2 separate regions of the Homo sapiens genome follow, and region 1 is linked to region 2. Evidence: promoter capture Hi-C in human tissues and cell types (Jung and others, 2019). All regions are on one chromosome and are shown on one strand. Each heading gives the region's core, a stretch centred on a gene start or on the middle of the fragment in contact. The rest is flanking DNA. Distances are from core to core; before and after follow the strand shown.

Region 1 (6,172 bases), core at 632-3,131, 290 kb after region 2:
GAAGAAAAAGAATAAGGAGGAGGAGGAGGAGGAGGAGAAGGAGGAGGAAAGGGGGAAATAAGATATTCACATATCTTCTCACATGTGCAAAACTAAACACAGGAAGTATAAACTAGATACTATAAGGGTAAGTGAGAATAAGATAGAAAAGAGGAGATGGGAAAAGAGTAAGAGGAATGAGGGATACTTCTCTGAGTATATCTTTTTCTTTTTGTTTTTGTTTTGAGACGGGATCCCACTCTGCTGCTCAGGCTGGAGTGCAATGGTGCAATTATAGTTCAGTGCAGCCTTGATCCCTCAGGCTCAGGTGATCTTCCCACCTCAGCCTCCTGGGTATCTGGGACCACAGATGCACACCACCATGCCTGGTGAATTTTTTTGTTTGTATTTTTTGTAAAGACGGGGTTTTGCCATATTGCTCAGGCTGGTCTAGAACTCCTGGGCTCAAGCATCTGCCTGGCTCAGCCTCCCAAAGTGCTGGGATTACAGGTGTGAGCCACCAACGCCTGGCTGAATATATCTTTCTATATAGTTTTGACTTTGGAACCATACTGAAAAAGAATCAGTGGATATGAAGAAAACATCCTAAAATGAAATACAAACAGAAACTGATGGGAGTGAGAAAGAACTAACCTACGTAACTTTTGAGAGTAGCATTTTGAGGATTTGCCGTTGCCTGAAAACAATAGAACTGTAAACAAATCTTGAAGTCTATTTTGTTTTTCACAGAGGTGTGGACTGGCAATTCTGAAACTACTTTCTGTGTATTAAGCAAATAAGTATGTTGTAGATGATGGAAACAAAGCTTGTTAGAGAAGATAGTTAAAAAATATGGAAGGAAGGGAAGGCTACAATTGACTTTGCAATGTCGGACTGGAGTTGGAGGTGTAAGTATGAACTCAAGGTATTTAACAGAGAGAGAGAGAGAGAGAGAGAGAGATGAGGGGTGTGTGTGTGTGTATCTGTGTACATACATCTATTTTTTTTTTAAGACAGTGTCTCACTCTGTCACCCAGGCTGGAGTGCAGTGGCAGGATCTCGGCTCGCTGCAACATCCAACCCCCACCTCCCAGGTTCGAGCAATTCTCCTACCTCAGCCTCCTGAGTAGCTGGGACTACAGGCATGTACCACCACACCCAGCTAATTTTTGTATTTTTAATAGAGACAGAGCTTCGCCATGTTGGCCAGGCTGGTCTCAAACTCCTGGGCTCAAGTGATCCTTCCGCCTCGGCCTCCAAAAGTGCTGGGATCACAGGCATGAGCCACCACGCCCAGCACACGCATCTATTTTCTAGCTCTGTCCTTGATAGGGCCTAGAAGCAATGACACCCCAGCAGCAGTGAGCATACGTGGTACCCAAGCTTTGGCTTCAAATGCCATTCTTCACCAAAGGAACTCCTTAGAGAAATGACTGATTTTAGCACTTGAGCTGAGGAAGTACGAGATGAGCCTGAAACATTTTGTAGTGCTAGAAAATAAGGATGTGCTGAAAAAATGACTGAGATATATCTAAAGAACAGATCGCCACCTTGACTGAGCTTCCACTGATCAAATCTGGAATAATCTGAGAGTCGAAGATAGCAACAGATTTGTAACCCACAGAATAAAATAAGAATCTGTGAAAATAAATATATATTATATATAAATGCAGTTTTTATACACACATATATATTCTTTATATATTTATAATTTATCTTTATTTATAGTAGACATATAAATTGATATAAATAACAGAAGGGAAAGCTCTTACTTACAATAGACTCCTAACTAACAAATATAAAGGGAATGATGGAATTAGAAAATCAGTATCATTGTAATAATTAATCCAGGCAATAATCATTAGTGGACGCTAAAACTAGTGGATAAGGGTTGATGAGCAATTACAAAATTACAACAACCTGGAGCAGTATCAGATCAAGTTCAGAAACCTGTGGCACAATACTAGAAACTTTCTACTTGACTACTGCCAGCTGATTTTTTAAAATTTCAACTATTATTCAGGGGGTACAGGGGCAAGTTTGTTACCTGAGTATATTGCATGATGTTGACTTTGGAGTATGAATGATCCCATCACCCAGGTAGTGAGCATAGTACCCAATTTTTCAGTTTTTCAGTTTTTCAGCCTTTGCCCCTTCCCCCTGCCCCCTCTAGTAATCCCCAGTGTCTTTTACTTCCATATTTATGTCCATATGTTCCCAATGTTTAGCTCCCACTTATAAGTAAGAACATGTAGTATTTGGTTTTCACATATTTTCTATTTGGTATTTGGTATTTTCTATTCCTGTGTTAATTCATTTTGGATAATGGCCTCAAGCTGCATCCATGTTGCTGCAAAGGACATGATTTCATTCTTTTTTACGGCTGTGTAGTATTGTATGGTATATGTGCATTACATTTTCTTTATCCATCCAGTCCATCATTGGATAAATGGATAAATTGGATAAATCCAGGTTGATTCCATGCCTTTGCTACTGTGAATAGTGCTGTGATGAACATATGAGTGCACGTGTCTTTTTTGTGGAACTACTTATTTTCCTTTGGATGTATACCCAGTAATGGGATTGCTGCATTGCATGGGAGGTCTGTTTTAAGTTCTTCGAGAAATCTCCAACCTGCTTTCCATAGTGACTGAACTAATTTACATTCCCACCAGCAGTGTATAGGCATTCCCTTTTCTCCAAAGCCTCACCAGTATCTGTTTTTGTCTTTTTAATAATAGTCATGGTTTTGATGTACATGTATCTGATGATTAGCAATGTTGAGCATTTTTTCATGTTTGTTGGCCACTTGTATTGTCTTCTTTTGAGAAGAGTGTGTTTGTGCCCTTTGCCCACTTTTTAATGGGGTTATTTTGGGTTTTTTTTTTTTTTCAGCTGATCGTTTAAGCCACATTGCTACATGTTGTATTTGCAACTGGATGATAATAACAATCATTTATTGAGTGTTTGCTATGTGCAGGCATTGCACCAGGTGGGGATTTTGTTTTTATGTTTGTTGCATATATTAACCCACTTAATCCTAACACCAACCCAGTAAGCTTTTTCATTAATATCTTCATGTTTTAGATGAAGAAACCAAAGTTCAAGGGATGAAAAATATGTCTAGGGTGAAATAGCTCAGAAGGGCAGAGCCCAGATTCAAATTCTCTGCCTTCTGGTTTTAGTTCAGTGTTGTTCTGTCATGCAGTGTGCCTATGCGTCCTCTTAGATCTCCCTCTGTGCTTCTGAAGGTGTGCAGAATGCCCAGGCCATGGAGGCATTCTTTTTTTTTTTTTTTTTTTTTGACAGACTCTCACTCTGTCGCCAGGCTGGAGTGCAGTGGTGTGATCTTGGCTCACTGCAACCTCTGACTCCCTGGTTCAAGCGATTCTCCTGCCTCAGCCTCCCGAGTAGCTGGGATTACAAGCATGCACCACGACACCCAGCTAATTTTTTTTTTTTTTTTTTTTTTGAGACGGAGTCTCACTCTGTTGCCCAGGCTGGAGTGCAGTGGCGCAATCTCAGATCACTGCAAGGTCTGCATCCTGGGTTCAAACCATTCTTCTGCCTCAGCCTCCTGAGTAGCTGGAACTACAGGCACCCACCACCACGCCTGGCTAATTTTTTTGTGTTTTTAGTAGAGACGGGGTTTCACTGTGTTAGCCAGGATGGTCTCGATCTCCTGACCTTGTGATCCGCCCGTCTCGGCCTCCCAAAGTGGTGGGATTACAGGCGTGAGCCACTGCGCCTGGCCACACCCAGCTAATTTTTGTATTTTTAGTAGAGACAAGGTTTCACCATGTTGGCCAGGATGGTCTCGATCTCCTGACCTCATGATCCGCCCATCTTAGCCTCCTAAAGTGATGGGATTACAGGCATAAGCCACCGCACCCAGCAGGAGGCATTCTTAAACAGAAGCACTAGTGGCTCCTTCTTTCTCCTCACCATGTTTACTAAATACCTAACCTCATTTTTTTCTCATCCGCAAAACAGGGACAGCAATATTGAATTGACATGTTATTAAGAGGACTAAATTAGATAATGTATATAAAGCATATAGCACAGAGTAAAGTACAGGTCCATTCATTGATAGCAGCAGCAGCGGTGACAGTGGTTGCAATGCTAGATTCCCTGGCACGATGGCAAAGGTTTCTAAAGGATACTCCTCACTTTCGTACTAAATTGATCATCACGAGCCAGATCATAAAGAGCTTTGTGTATCATGAAAAGAAGATTACATCTTATTCTACAGGCAGTAGAAACTACTGAAGAATTTTATTACCGAGAGAGATGTGATCTGGTTGGCAATTTAAAGAGCAGACCAAGGGGAGGAGAACAAAGCGCAAGGCAGGGAGAGCAGCAGGAGGCTGTTGTCAAAGGCCAGGCAAGAGATAAGGAAGGTCTGAGTTAATGCCAGGGCTGGTGTGGTGGACAAGAGGGAGCACACAGTGGACAGTCAAACTCCGGAGCTGTGCCTGGGTTTGGCAGGAGAGAAAAGGGGAGGAGCTTAGCTGAGCCTCCTGCCTCTGACCTGGGCACTGGCTTCTCTTGGGCATAACCCGAGCGGCTGGGGACACTGGAAGATGCAGATCAGGGGTGGTTTGGGACACACAAGGGAGTCACAGTAGATGGTTGGATATACAGATCTGGATTAAGGCATCTGAATATCTGAATATTCAGATTCAGACCAAGGAGAGAGCTCAGGGCTGCCGCAGCATGCCGGGGGTCATTAAAGCTTGGAGGTGGATGAGGTCCATCAGAGAAGGGATGTAGAGTGAGAAGAGGGCTGAGGACAGGATTTTGGAAGTGCCCATTTTTTCTTTAACTTTTATTTTAGGTTCAAGGGTTCTTGTGCAGGTTTGTTATATGGGTAAATCACATGTCACGGGGGTTTGCTGTACAGATTATTTTGTCACTCAGGTAATAAGCATAGTACCCAGTAGGTAGTTTTTCAGTTCTCTCCCTCCTCCCATCCTCCACCTTCAAGTAGGCCCCAGTACCTATTGTTCCCTTCTTTGTGTCCCTGTGTTCTCAGTGTTCAGCTCTCACTTATAAGTGAAGATGTGCTGTATCTGGATTTCTGTTCCTGTATTAGTTCACTTAGGATAATGTCCTCCAGCTCCATCCATGTTGCTGCAAGGAACAGGATCTCATTCTTTTTTATGGCTGTGTAGTATTCCGTGGTGTATATGTACTACATTTGCTTTATCCAGTCTTCCACTGATAGGCATTTAGGCTGATTCTATATCTTTGCTGTGGAAACATTTCAATATTTAAAGATGGCAAAAGAAGAGGCTGAAGGAGACTGACAAGAAACACCCAGAAACATAAGAGAGTCTCTAGGTGGAAGTTTTCTGCCATGGCAAAGAAAGATTGCAGAGAGAGAAACAAGCCGAGGAAGGACTGAAAGGTGCCTGCTGGATTTGGCAGCTAGGTCACTGATGACCTTGACAGTAGCATGTGCCAAGGAGCAGAGTCGAGCTGGCTGGATTAAGGAGAGAGTTGGACTTCTCAGGGCGAGAGACTAGAACTTAATGTCCCCAGGAATGTGGGTCTCTCATTTCCTTGCCATGCATTCTGGTTAATGGAAGGTTTTCTTTATAAAGCTAGAATCTCTCTCTCTCCAGCATCTTCCCTCAGCTCTAGTTCACTCTCCAGGTCCAAAACAACCAGTCTACACATTTCCCCAGAGAATGGTCCATATATACCTCCCAACTTGGTCGTCTCATCCAGCACTGCTCATATGCTCCAGGAACCCCAGACTTGCCTTGCAGTTGGCCCTCAGGATGGATCCTGTTTTGTTAAAACTGTGCTTGTTCTTTGGCAACAGTAGAGCCTGTGTTTCAGTTGGTCTTTATTTCTCACCTTTTTAGGTTGGTGGCTTCCCAACCATGCTTGTAACCTCAACTGAGAATAAGAAAGACACTTCACAATATGATCAGTATAACCATGGGTGTATAACTGAAGGAAAAGTCTTATGACATAATACATCCCCTTACTGTGGTAGATGCACTCTAGTGTTTTCGACTCCATCTCATTCTACCCTATTCCATTTCATGTGTTTACATGCTTGTTGTGACTCATTACATCAATTTCACAACCACAAAACTGATTTAATGACCCACAGTATGAGAGGCTCAAAGGAAAAGATGCTCAGTGTTTGTTTGAATCCATCCCCATTTCCCGGCCTCAT
Region 2 (6,259 bases), core at 578-3,077:
ACAAGTATGCCTTTTCTCCTCTCAGCCCAGCTCTGTTTGCCTCTCATTGGTTCTGCCTGATTCACTAGTACCTGAAGCCTCAGCATCCCCTCCCCTGGGAGAAGCTCCGCATTTTATGATGTCCAGGTGTGCCCAGAGTGACTGCCTGAAAGCGTTCACAGCTCTGGCGAACAGGAACCGGGTACACCTGGGTTTCTCAAGGGAACCAACTCTGAAGCTCTGCCTTTAGTAAAAGTCACAATGCCCATTCATGATTACCTTTTCCCTCAGATGTGCGTGTTGCGTGTTCATTTCCCCTGACTTGATCAGCGTTTCCTCCTAACCACCACTGTGCTTTAATATGGCTGCAGCACTCTTAAAATCCATCCGGAGCAATCCTGATTTCAAATATTTTGTCTCTTTGTGAGACGGATGGCAGTCGTCAGTCGGTCCAGGCTTCCTGTTGTTGACCTTATTTTCCAACCTAGATTGTAAGCTCTTGTGGGCACATATTGTGCCTTTTTCACCACTGTATTAGGTTGAACCATTAAAACGGCCAATATTTGGTTGCTTTTGATATAGAAAAATGGCAGTTTTATATGGTTCAACCTAATATCTCTGGTTCTTGTCCAAGGAAGGCTTGTAATACATATTTGCTGAAAGAATTGTCCTTAATCAGAAATAAATCTAATTTCAAAACAGGCAGTAGGCAGACAGCTTCTTTCCACCTCTCCAAATCTCTTGACTGATCCCCGAGGCATATTTCCAGCTTGATTTTTCTTGTCACTGGCTTCAAGCTGCGTTGGTTTCCTGTCTAGTGTGTGAGGAGGTGAATTGTGTTTATGCCAAGACTTCTCTCTGGGATGTGGGTAACTCTCTTTGGGAGGCAGTTTGTGTAGAAGAAGGAACACAGATATGGAATCAAATCCCAGCCTGAAGACTTAGTAATTATATGATTTTGGACCAAAAAAAAAAAGACAAAAACAAAAAACAAAAAAACTGCACACACACACACAACAGAGCCTTGGTCTCCTCTTGGGTAAGACAAGAACAATATATGTACCACACAGCACCAGGAGGCAGGACCGGGAAAGAGTAAATGAGATAATCTATGTGAATGGGCCTGGCATATAGTAGGCATCTGCCAGATGCTAGTTTTATTCATTCTCAGTCTTTGTTAGAGAGAAACCAAACCAAAGACAGATACGTGATTTTCAGCCAGTGGTAACTTGGCAACTAGGAGCTGGTCTCTTGGGTCCTAGTTTTTCCAGCAAGTTACACTTTCTGTCTGTGATCTGCACACTACCATTTGAAGCACTTTTTCTCCTGCACACCACCTCACACCCCACCCAGCTCCCTCCTGACACCCATGACTGCCATACAGAATGTCTCCTCTCCTGCCCTCTGCCTGCCCCTTCCCTCACTCCTGGGAAGAAATCAGAGAATTTACTCCTCTGTGGTTTCATTTGCACTGGGTGATGGTGATTTTTTGAGGCACCTGATTGAGCTCCATGTACACATTATTTCAGCTCATAGACAGCAGGTCCACTTACCTGAGGCCACACCTTTACTTCATCAATCTGGTTCAAGGTGTGTTTGTATCCCCAAGGAAGGTTTTGATTGATGTAGTCTATAGCCACCAGAGCTGCTTCCTCAGTTTCTGGATCATCGCAGTTCGGTTGTCTATAAATCAGCCCTGGGCCATGTGGGGCTGAGTGGCAGCCCCAGAGCTGAGCAAGACAAAGGAGCAGGACGAGGGACTTCATGGCTGCCCCAGAGAGGCCCTGGCAGGCGTGCAGGTGGTTGGAGGCTTCGGGACCAACCCAGGTGCTCTGCTGGGAAAGGTAGACCCATGGAGGGTGGTGGGCTTTATTTATCTGTTGGAGCCTGCCGGAAGAATTGCATAAGGATACAGGATGATTTCTGCTTTGGTTCAAAAGAAAAAAAAAAACACCCTGCAAACATCAGCCCTGGAAAAGCAAACAGGTTAGGACATCGCTGGTCCCCAAGAAATCTGCCAAAGTCCATGCTGCTGTGGGGGAGATGCTCCAAAGTCTGCTTGGAACATGGTAATAGCAGCAAAGAGAAGACAGCTGAGGGAATGAGGTGGACACAGTCAGCCTCAGAGTGCCATGGGTTTGGCAGCAGAGGAAATGTCTTCTACTGTGATCTGAGCATGCCATGGGGTCTGTGAGAGGGAAGGGAGGATACTCAGCAATTTGATAAAATTCTCCAATGTCAGGGGGAGTTAGCTTTCCAAGAGGAGTCCTACAGGGAGAACAAGGCCCACAGATATAGCAAAGGTACAGATGTGTATAGGAGATGCCAAGATTTTGGGGGAAGATTCTTGGAGAAAAGAAAAAGGATGAGAGATGTTTCTGCCTAAAGTGGGGAATGGAGGTGGAAGAAGGGGGTTCCCGTGGCAGGACCACGGTGGGAAATGACCAGCAAAACGTGTGGGGTTCCCTGCCCCTTCTCTTCCTTCTCCAGACCTCACTGCCAGGGCCCTGCATGTGACAGCACAGATGGGCACTGACCAGAGTCTCCTAGCACTAGTAACCTAGTGCCCCTGCCAGTGCACAAGGGCAGCAGAGGGGAGTCCTGACTCATTTGACACAGCTCTGGGTTCGAGTCTGACACCGCAGGCTGAGATGCTGCACGAGCAGCTACGGACACAAATACCCCTTGAACATTCTTTGCAGACTCAGCAGAATTACAGTGTGTCTTTCTGGCCAGAACAGAGGGCCAGTGTTGACTCCAGGCACTGCCTATTAAGTGACCCTTGACAATTCCAAGTGTGACATCCAAGGAGGGTTGGCAGGATAAAGAGAGGCTTGGGAAATATCACACAAGGACCTGGTTTGGTTTAGTCTGAAGCAAAGAAGCCCTCTCATGGAGACCAACATGGTCTTCAAATATTTAGAGGCCATCATTGTGTGTGGGTGAATTTGTTCTAATGTTTGATATTGCTTCAGAGAAAAAAAAACTGGTTAAAAAAAAAAGAAAGAAGAGGGGCCCCTCCAAAGGGAAGCTTAATATTGATTTTCTGGGGTGAGAATCGGGGTGAGGGAGGTGAAGTGAGTGGTGATGGGGCAGAGAAGGTAGTTGGCAGGACTGTTCTCACATTTACTCCCAGCTGCTCACACACCACACCGAATCTTAATGTCAGAAGCTCAGAAGGTGTGGCCAGGACTCCAGGTTCTCTCCAAGAGGGGGACCATGATTCTTCCAGATGAAAAACAAACTCTGGTCATCCAGCAAGATGATCCTCAAAGCCAGGGGCAATCTTCCATCACCTTATACTCCATTTCACTCAGGGCCCTGACTCCTGAACTGTGTGTGGAAGCTATGCTTTTCTTTATATAATCTTTAAAAATATTGAAGGGCTGGGCACGGTGGTTCACACCTGTAATTCCAGCACTTTGGGAGGCTGAGGTGGGCAGATCACGAGGCCTAGAGATTGAGCCCAACCTGACCAACACAGTGAAACCCTGTCTCTTCTAAAAATACAAAAATTAGCTGGGCGTGGTGGCGCGCGCCTGTAGTCCCACCTACTCGGGAGGCCGAGACAGGAGAATCACTTGAACCCAGGAGGTGGAGGTTGCAGTGAGCCAAGATTGCGCCACTGCACTCCAGCCTGGCAACGGAGTGGGACTCCGACTCAAAAAAAAGAAAAATTGAATAAAGTGTGGTAAGGTGGCACACACCTGTAATCCCAACTATGAAGGCAGGATGATAGCATAAGACCTGGAGTAGGCTATGGTTGCAGTGAGCTATGATAGTGCCACTGCACTCCAGCCCAGCCAACAGAATGAGACTCTGTCTCAAAAAAGAAATCATTCACAATCTCATCATGCAGAGATAAACAGTGTTAATGTTTTGATGCATTTATATCTTTTCTTTTTTTCTATGTAAAATAATATTTTAATATAATTTTGATTATACTGCATATACAGCTGTTAAAATTTTTTCACCTATTGCTTTAACTTGAATATTTTCCTATGTCATTAAGTAGACTTAAAAACATGTTTACAGGCCAGGCACGGTGGCTTACACCTGTAATCCCAGCACTTTGGGAGGCCAAGGCAGGTGGATCATGAGGTCAACAGATAGAGAGCATCCTGGCCAACATGGTGAAACCCCATCTCTACTAAAAATACAAAAAATTGGCTGGGCGTGGTGCTGGACGCCTGTAATCTCAGCTACTTGGGAGGCTGAGGCAGGAGAATCACTTGAACCTGGGAGGCAGAGGTTGCAGTGAGGGGAGATTGTGCCACTGCACTCCAGCTTGGGCAACAGAGTGAGACTCTGTCTCAAAACAAAAAACAAAAAAAAACAAAAAAAAAACAAAAAACAAAAAAACAAAAAAACACACTTTTTTATTTAGGAATCTTTGGCTTTTGATTCTTTTTTTCAGGATAGATTTTTAGAAGTAAAATTATTGATTCTAATGATTTGCACATTTTTAAAGCTCTTAATTTTTATAGTCAAATAGTCTATTTGGCTATGCCAATTTATCCCCCTTCCATTTAGCTGTTGTGTGATGTCAGCTCAGCTGTTTTCTCTTTTCCTCTGTTACTGCTTTCATGCTGACTTTTGTGGGAACTTAGATATGTGAACACTCTCAGAATTCTTTTTTAAAAATGTAATTTATGAATATCTTTGCTTTTATCACAGCTACTCCATATGTCTAATACTTATAAACTAAAATAACTTTGGTATCAAGCTGAGTAAAATGATCCCTTAGATTTTTTCAGTTTCCTTAGAAAGAAATGTTGCCATTTACTTACTGGAAATGAGGAAGAAAATAGATGATATTTTGGTATGTTTTCCAAGATGGCTGTAGCATTAGTGCCAATGGGTAGTTCCCTGTGCCTGATGACACCAGTTTTAAACTTTAAAAGATTCTCACTTGCCAAATGTATATGGGACTCATGAGTGATCTTCACGTGCTGAATACATATACTCATGAGTAATCTTGGGTCAGTTTGATCCAACTGGCTCCAGCTTCTTTGCATATCAGTAGGAGATAGGCATTTCCTCCATTTTCTGGTCCTTTGCTGCATTATTTTAGTTACTTTTCTGTGCATTTTTCTATGAGGCTCACATCACAGCAATAAAATAATCCTCATTCCATTCACACTATGATGGCTGATAGTGTATTGAGGATATCAAGGGCTTGTTAGAACTGGTCAAGGAGAGCAGGCCCAACAGTCTAAGGAGCAGGAGAGGATCAACAATCTCCAGGAGATGGCAGCAGGGTGCCGGGCAGTGCTTGCTGGGTGCAACCCTTGTGTGGCTGATGGCAGAAATCTCAAGATGGCAGCTGTCTTAGTCCATCTGTGTTTCTATAAAGAAAAACCTGAGGCTGGGTAATTTATACAGAAAAGAGGTTTATTTGGCTCATGGTTCGCAGGCTGTACAAGAAGCATGACACCGGCATCTGCTTCTGGTGAGGGCTATAGGCTGCTTCCACTCATGGCGGAAGGCAAAGAAGAGCTGGCGTGCGCAAGCTCTTGGTGAGAGAGAGGAGAGATGCCCGGCTTTTTCTTTCTTTCTTTCTTTTTTTAACAACCAGCTCTCACGGAAAATAATATAGCAGGAATTCATTCATTACCACCAGGATGGCACCAAGCCCTTCATGAGGGATCTGTCTCCATGACCCAAACACCTCCCATTAGGCCCCACCTCCAACATTGGGGATTACATTTCAACATGAGACGTGGGGGGACAAACATCCAAAGTAGAGCAGCAGCTAAGGATGGCACCAGGGTTCCTGAATTTGTCAAAAGGACTCTTTGCCAGGGAGCCACTAGGGCAAGTGTTGTATTTAAACTATTCCAAGGCAGAATTCAGTGTTTATAGTTGCAGGCCAGGAGCCACAACAACAAAGATCACCAGGGTCAGAGCTCAGGGTCAGAGTTTCTCAGAGGTTGGTTCCATTAGTGGATGTGGGTATAGGAGGGAGAGGATAGATATAGAAAGATATGAAATATCCCGTCAGGCAGCAAGAGCTAAGGTGATAGCTAGAAACCAGCCTCTCACAAAACAGAAGATGAAAAAGTGCCTGTCAGCAAAAGCCAGAAGGACAACTGGTTTCTGTAGGGAGGAAATAGCAGTGGTTGGTTTTTAAATCATTAGGTCAGGTTCATGGCTCTGCCCTTTCTGGTACTTAAAGGGCCTAGGCCCTGATAGACTGGGTATTAATTTCACTCAAAGACTGGGTGTTTCTTCATTCATATGTTCAATGAACAAACATTTATTGAGCACCTACTATCTG

The links. The method cuts DNA at HindIII sites, captures the fragments that hold promoters and counts their contacts. A contact is called where the count stands out against the background at its distance.
Region 1: a fragment that was not itself captured here is called in contact with the fragment with the promoter of AHSG in region 2 in 2 of the 25 tissues and cell types used here (IMR-90 fibroblasts and stomach).

What each region holds. Positions count from the first base shown.
Region 1 is chr3:186,321,216-186,327,387 of GRCh38, reverse strand. The region is part of intron 1 of DGKG (diacylglycerol kinase gamma); the gene reads left to right. Among named protein-coding and RNA genes, the nearest start is that of DGKG, 38 kb to the left of the region's middle. The HindIII fragment of the contact is 3,991 bases long and covers 1-3,876 here.
Region 2 is chr3:186,608,628-186,614,886 of GRCh38, reverse strand. It overlaps AHSG (alpha 2-HS glycoprotein), which reads right to left and starts at 1,827. Exons shown (of 7, transcript NM_001622.4): 1 at 1,533-1,827. The coding sequence starts at 1,745. The HindIII fragment of the contact is 10,895 bases long and covers 1-6,259 here.